Regions from separate parts of the Homo sapiens genome. Here region 2 is linked to region 1. Evidence: promoter capture Hi-C in human tissues and cell types (Jung and others, 2019). All regions are on one chromosome and are shown on one strand. Each heading gives the region's core, a stretch centred on a gene start or on the middle of the fragment in contact. The rest is flanking DNA. Distances are from core to core; before and after follow the strand shown.

Evidence for each region. The method cuts DNA at HindIII sites, captures the fragments that hold promoters and counts their contacts. A contact is called where the count stands out against the background at its distance.
Region 2: a contact is called between a fragment that was not itself captured here and the fragment with the promoter of KRTAP10-4 in region 1, in 1 of the 25 tissues and cell types used here (lymphoblastoid cells).

Annotation. Positions count from the first base shown.
Region 1 is chr21:44,572,356-44,575,145 of GRCh38, forward strand. It overlaps KRTAP10-4 (keratin associated protein 10-4), which reads left to right and starts at 1,374. Exons shown (of 1, transcript NM_198687.2): 1 at 1,374-2,790. The coding sequence starts at 1,404. The coding sequence ends at 2,609. The region is part of intron 1 of TSPEAR (thrombospondin type laminin G domain and EAR repeats); the gene reads right to left. RefSeq lists enhancers at 1,589-2,106, 2,107-2,625. The HindIII fragment of the contact is 6,773 bases long and covers 1-2,790 here.
Region 2 is chr21:45,683,772-45,686,561 of GRCh38, forward strand. All of the region lies in intron 2 of PCBP3 (poly(rC) binding protein 3), which reads left to right. Among named protein-coding and RNA genes, the nearest start is that of PCBP3, 41 kb to the left of the region's middle. The HindIII fragment of the contact is 5,038 bases long and covers 1-2,790 here.

The DNA.
Region 1 (2,790 bases), core at 124-2,623:
GCTTTCTCAGAGCTGGGAACCAACCTGCGGTGGTGTCGGGAAGCTGGCAAAGGGCGATGTGAACCCCGCTTTTCAGCCACTATTCCCTAAAACCATTCCACGAGGTCAAGCCACACCTCACAAGCAAAGGCTGCTGAGTGCCCAGTGCTGGGCACCTGCTGTCCTGTGCTACCCTCGCCACCCCCCATGCTCCACCTGCCCCAGGCCCAAGTCCACAAGAAACACTTCTGCCGTGCTTGCCTTCCCATCCCGGGTTCTGCTCCCGTGCCCACGTCCTCATCCCAGGTTCTGCCATTGTGTCTGCTTGCTGTGGATTGAATTGTGTCCCTCAAAAGGTGCCGAAGTCCTGACCGCTGGTACATGTGAATGTGACCCTATATGGAAATAGGGTCTTTGTAGGTGATCAAGTTAAGAGGAGGCTGTTAGGATAGGCCCTACTGCAATAATGCTTTGTATCCTTATAAAAAGGGGAGATTTGGACACACACACACACACACACACACACACACACACACACACACACACACACACGGAGAAGCTGTGTGAAGATAAAGGCAGAGCTCAGGTGAGGCCACTGTAAGCCAAGGACCCCAAAGATAGCAGCAGCCCACAGGAGTGAGGGGAGCGGGGTGAGACAGTGCCCCTCGCAGCCTCAGAAGGAACCCATGCTGTCCACTGTCCACACCTCGATCTCAGACTTCTGGCTTCCAAAACCATGAGACACGGAATTTCTGTTGTGTGACCAGCCAGTTTGTGGTACTGTTTGTCATGGCAGCCCAAGGAAAAGAATACATTACAGCATACAAACCATGACTCACATTATCTTTACTTAGAACCCAAACAAACCTCTCTCCCTAAGCTTTCAATCACAGAGGCACATGATCTTGTTCAGCAGCCTAGAAAACCAAGGCCCAGCGGAGCCACCCGTAGGCACCCACTCCCCATAGCCTGGCACACACACACGGCAGAGCCACCCACAGGCACCCACTCCTCATAGTCCAGCACACACACGGCAGAGCCACCCGCAGGCACCCACTCCCCATAGCCCGGCACACACGTGGACCATGCCACCCTCCACGTGCGCCTGGGGAGCAAAGCAGCACAGCCTGAACTGCCCCTCAGCTCTTCCTCCTGAGTCTAAAACACGCACATGCGCCCCAGGCCAATTCCAAGTTTTGTAAACTGAGCAACAGCTCTTGGGAAACAAAAACACAGCTACTGTTTATTCTCCTGGAGCTGGCTGTACACCCCAACAAGGAAGGGAGGGCTTGCTGAGCCTCCTGTCTGGACAACATGCACCAAGGAGGAGTATAAAAGCCCCACAAACCCGAGCACCTCACTCACTCGCTCACCCACTCCCTCCCATCTCCCCCAGCTCAACCCCCAGCACAGCAGCATCCACCATGTCCGTCTGCTCCAGCGACCTGAGCTACAGCAGCCGCGTCTGCCTTCCTGGTTCCTGTGACTCTTGCTCCGACTCCTGGCAGGTGGACGACTGCCCAGAGAGCTGCTGCGAGCCCCCCTGCTGCGCCCCCAGCTGCTGCGCCCCGGCCCCCTGCCTGAGCCTGGTCTGCACCCCAGTGAGCCGTGTGTCCAGCCCCTGCTGCCCAGTGACCTGTGAGCCCAGCCCCTGCCAATCAGGCTGCACCAGCTCCTGCACGCCCTCGTGCTGCCAGCAGTCTAGCTGCCAGCTGGCTTGCTGTGCCTCCTCCCCCTGCCAGCAGGCCTGCTGCGTGCCCGTCTGCTGCAAGACTGTCTGCTGCAAGCCTGTGTGCTGTGTGCCCGTCTGCTGTGGGGATTCTTCATGCTGCCAGCAGTCTAGCTGCCAGTCAGCTTGCTGCACCTCCTCCCCCTGCCAGCAGGCCTGCTGTGTGCCCATCTGCTGCAAGCCTGTCTGCTCTGGGATTTCCTCTTCGTGCTGCCAGCAGTCTAGCTGTGTGAGCTGTGTGTCCAGCCCCTGCTGCCAGGCGGTCTGTGAGCCCAGCCCCTGCCAATCAGGCTGCATCAGCTCCTGCACGCCCTCGTGCTGCCAGCAGTCTAGCTGCCAGCCGGCTTGCTGCACCTCCTCCTCCTGCCAGCAGGCCTGCTGCGTGCCCGTCTGCTGCAAGACTGTCTGCTGCAAGCCTGTGTGCTCTGAGGATTCCTCTTCATGCTGCCAGCAGTCTAGCTGCCAGCCGGCTTGCTGCACCTCCTCTCCCTGCCAGCAGGCTTGCTGTGTGCCTGTCTGCTGCAAGCCTGTGTGCTGCAAGCCTGTCTGCTCTGTGCCCATCTGCTCTGGGGCTTCCTCTCTGTGCTGCCAGCAGTCTAGCTGCCAGCCAGCTTGCTGCACCTCCTCCCAAAGCCAGCAGGGCTGCTGCGTGCCCGTCTGCTGCAAGCCTGTGAGCTGTGTGCCTGTTTGCTCTGGGGCTTCCTCTTCATGCTGCCAGCAATCTAGCTGCCAGCCAGCTTGCTGCACCACCTCCTGCTGCAGACCCTCCTCCTCCGTGTCCCTCCTCTGCCGCCCCGTGTGCAGGCCCGCCTGCTGCGTGCCCGTCCCTTCCTGCTGTGCTCCCACCTCCTCCTGCCAACCCAGCTGCTGCCGCCCAGCCTCCTGCGTGTCCCTCCTCTGACGCCCCGTGTGCTCCCGCCCAGCCTGCTGAGGCCTCCGCTCAGGTCAGAAGCCCAGCTGCTGATGGACACGCCCCCCAGTGCCAGCCAGGCTCAGGTCCCACCTGAAAGCTGATAGTCGCGTCCTGAATTGCTCCTGCACTTTGACCATTTCCTGGTGTCTGCTGTTGAGCTGGACAATGG
Region 2 (2,790 bases), core at 125-2,624, 1.1 Mb after region 1:
AAAAATGATCCCGGCGTGGTAGCAGGCGCCTGTAGTTCCAGCTACTCGGGAGGCTGAGGCAGGAGAATGGCATGAACCCGGGAGGCAGAGCTTGCAGTGAGCCGAGATCGTGCCACTGCACTCCAGCCTGGGCGACAGCGAGACTCCATCTCAAAAAAAAAATAAAAATAAAAAATAAGGTGTTGCTGGGCATGGTGGCTCATACCTGTAATCTCAGTGCTTTGGGAGGCCATGACAGGAGGATTGCTTGAGACCAGCCTGGTCAACATAGAACCCATCTCTACAAAAAAAAAAAAAAAAAAAAAAAATTGCCGGGTGTGGTGGCACATGCCTGTAGTCCCAGCTTCTCTGGAGGTTGAGGCAGAAGGATCACTTAAGCTCAGAAGTTCAAGGCAGCCATGAGCTATGATCACACCACTTCACTCTAGCCTGGGTGACAGTGAGACCCTGTCTCTAAAAACAAAAGCAAACAAACAAAAAAGTAATAAGGTCCTGTGGAAGTATATGTTAAATCAAGAGGGTATTAAGTATGAAATTTATGCGGTTCTGATGGTGCCATTGGTAAGGAAGGACCTGAGATTAACTCATAAGAGAGATAGAGAATTACTGATTTTACTGCTTGATATAGTGTGGATATTTGTCCTTTCCAAATCTCATATTGAAATGTGATCCCCAGTGTTGGAGGTGGGGCCTAGTGGGAGGTGTTTGGATCATGGGGGAAGATCCCTCATCAATGGCTTGGTGTCCTCCCTGCAGTAATGAGAGAGTTCTTACTCTGTTAATTCACATGATAACTGTTTAAAGAAGAGCATGGAACTTCCCTGCTCCTTGCTTTCTTTCTGTTTATGTGACATGCCTGTTCCTCTTTCACCTTCCACCATGAGTAAAAGCTTCCTGAGGCCTCAGCAGAGGCCAAGCAGATGCTGGTGCCATGATTGTACAGCCCGCAGAGCCATGAGCCAAAACACCTCTTTTCTTCATAATCTTCATAAATTGCCCAGTCTCAGATATTCCTTTATAGCAACGCAAAACAGACTAACACAGTGCTCATAAAATGTCTGTTAAACCAGAGAAATATGAATGGGCAATGCTACAGTTTAATTTTCCATTCTTAGTGTTTATAGTGATTTACATGAGGTTTGATAAATGTTAAGCTATGGAATAAAACACACAGAAGTCTATCTTCCCCACACCCTGCCCCCTGCCACTCTGCTACAGAAAACCATCAATGTATATCCCTGTGACTGTCTACCATATCAGCTTGTTGGCTTGAACATTTTGAGTATTACAAACCATCATCCTAACATTAGATGCAAAGACCAAATGTTACACTTCCTTTAAAAACAAAGAGAGGTGAAATAAGCCAGTCATAAAAGGACAAATAATATATGATTCCACTTAAGTGAGATACCAAGAGTAGTCAAATTCAGAGACAGAAAATAACATGGGGAATGGGTTTTAAAGGTTGTGGGGAAGGGAAAAATGGGGAATTATTGTTTAATGGATACAGAGTTTCAGTTTTGCAAGATGAAAACAGTTGTGGAGATAGATGGTGGTGATAGTTGCACAAAAGTGTGAATGTATTTAATGCCACTTAACTGTACACTTGAAAATGGTTAAGATGGTGAATTTTATGTGTATTTTACCACCACTAAAAAAAATAAAAATAAGAAATACAAAAAGGAAGGAGACCTTTGCCTCTGCCCATGGTGGAGTAACCAGGATAGGACTTATCCTTCTGTTGTGAACAACCAGAAAACTGGAAAAATATATAAAACAACTTACTTCAGACACTGGACAACAGGCTGCACAAGACTGATAAAGATAAACCCTGTAATTCCCAACTTTCTTAGTAAAAGTACTTTTCAAACTGCATGGCAATGAGGGGGAATATAAGCAGAGCCTTACAGCATAACTGAGTTGGTGAAACATAAAAGCTCAGGCAGGCTTAGTTAGTTGGAGATTGTGAAGAGGAGATACATGGAAAGACTCTGAAGAGAAGTAAAATCAGCCCCAAAAATCTGCACTGGGGATTCCTTCAGTCTGTTGCCAAACACTAACCAATAACCAACACATGAGACTCCATGAGGCAAGACAAGAAACAAAAACAAAACAAAACAAAACAAAAAGCCTGTAAGATGAACTTTTTTTTTTTTTTTTTTTTTGAGATGGAGTCTTACTCTGTCGCTCAGGCTGTAGTGCAGTGGCACAATCTTGGCTCACCACAACCTCTGCCTCCTGGGTTCAAGTGATTCTCCTGCCTCAGCCTCCTGAGTAGCTGGGATTACAGGCATCTGCTACCACCTTGGCTAATTTTTGTGTTTTTAGTAGAGACAGGGTTTCACCATATTGGCCAGGCTGGTCTCAAACTCCAGACCTCAAGTGATTCGCCTGCCTTGGCCTCCCAAAGTGCTGGGATTACAGGTGTGAACCACCGTGCCTGGCCTAAGATGAACAATTCACATTGCTCAACAGAGGTTCGGGAGACAATTAGAGTTTTGGCCATCCAGAATGGAGCATCCCTCCTGAACCACCAAGGCAATCAGTAGAGGTAACGGAAAGGTATACCTCAAGAGTAGGTCTAAATTAGCTGTAGAGTAAAAGATACTGTACATCCAACCTAACAAAGCTTAAAAAAGCTGATCCACAAGTAAATTATCTGCATGAAAGAAGACAGTCTACTATTCTTTTAAAAAATAACGACAAAATCCAGACACTTAATGTAATTTTCACAGTGTCTACAGTCATCTAAAGCTATTGGACCTACAAAGAAGCAAGAAAATATGGCCA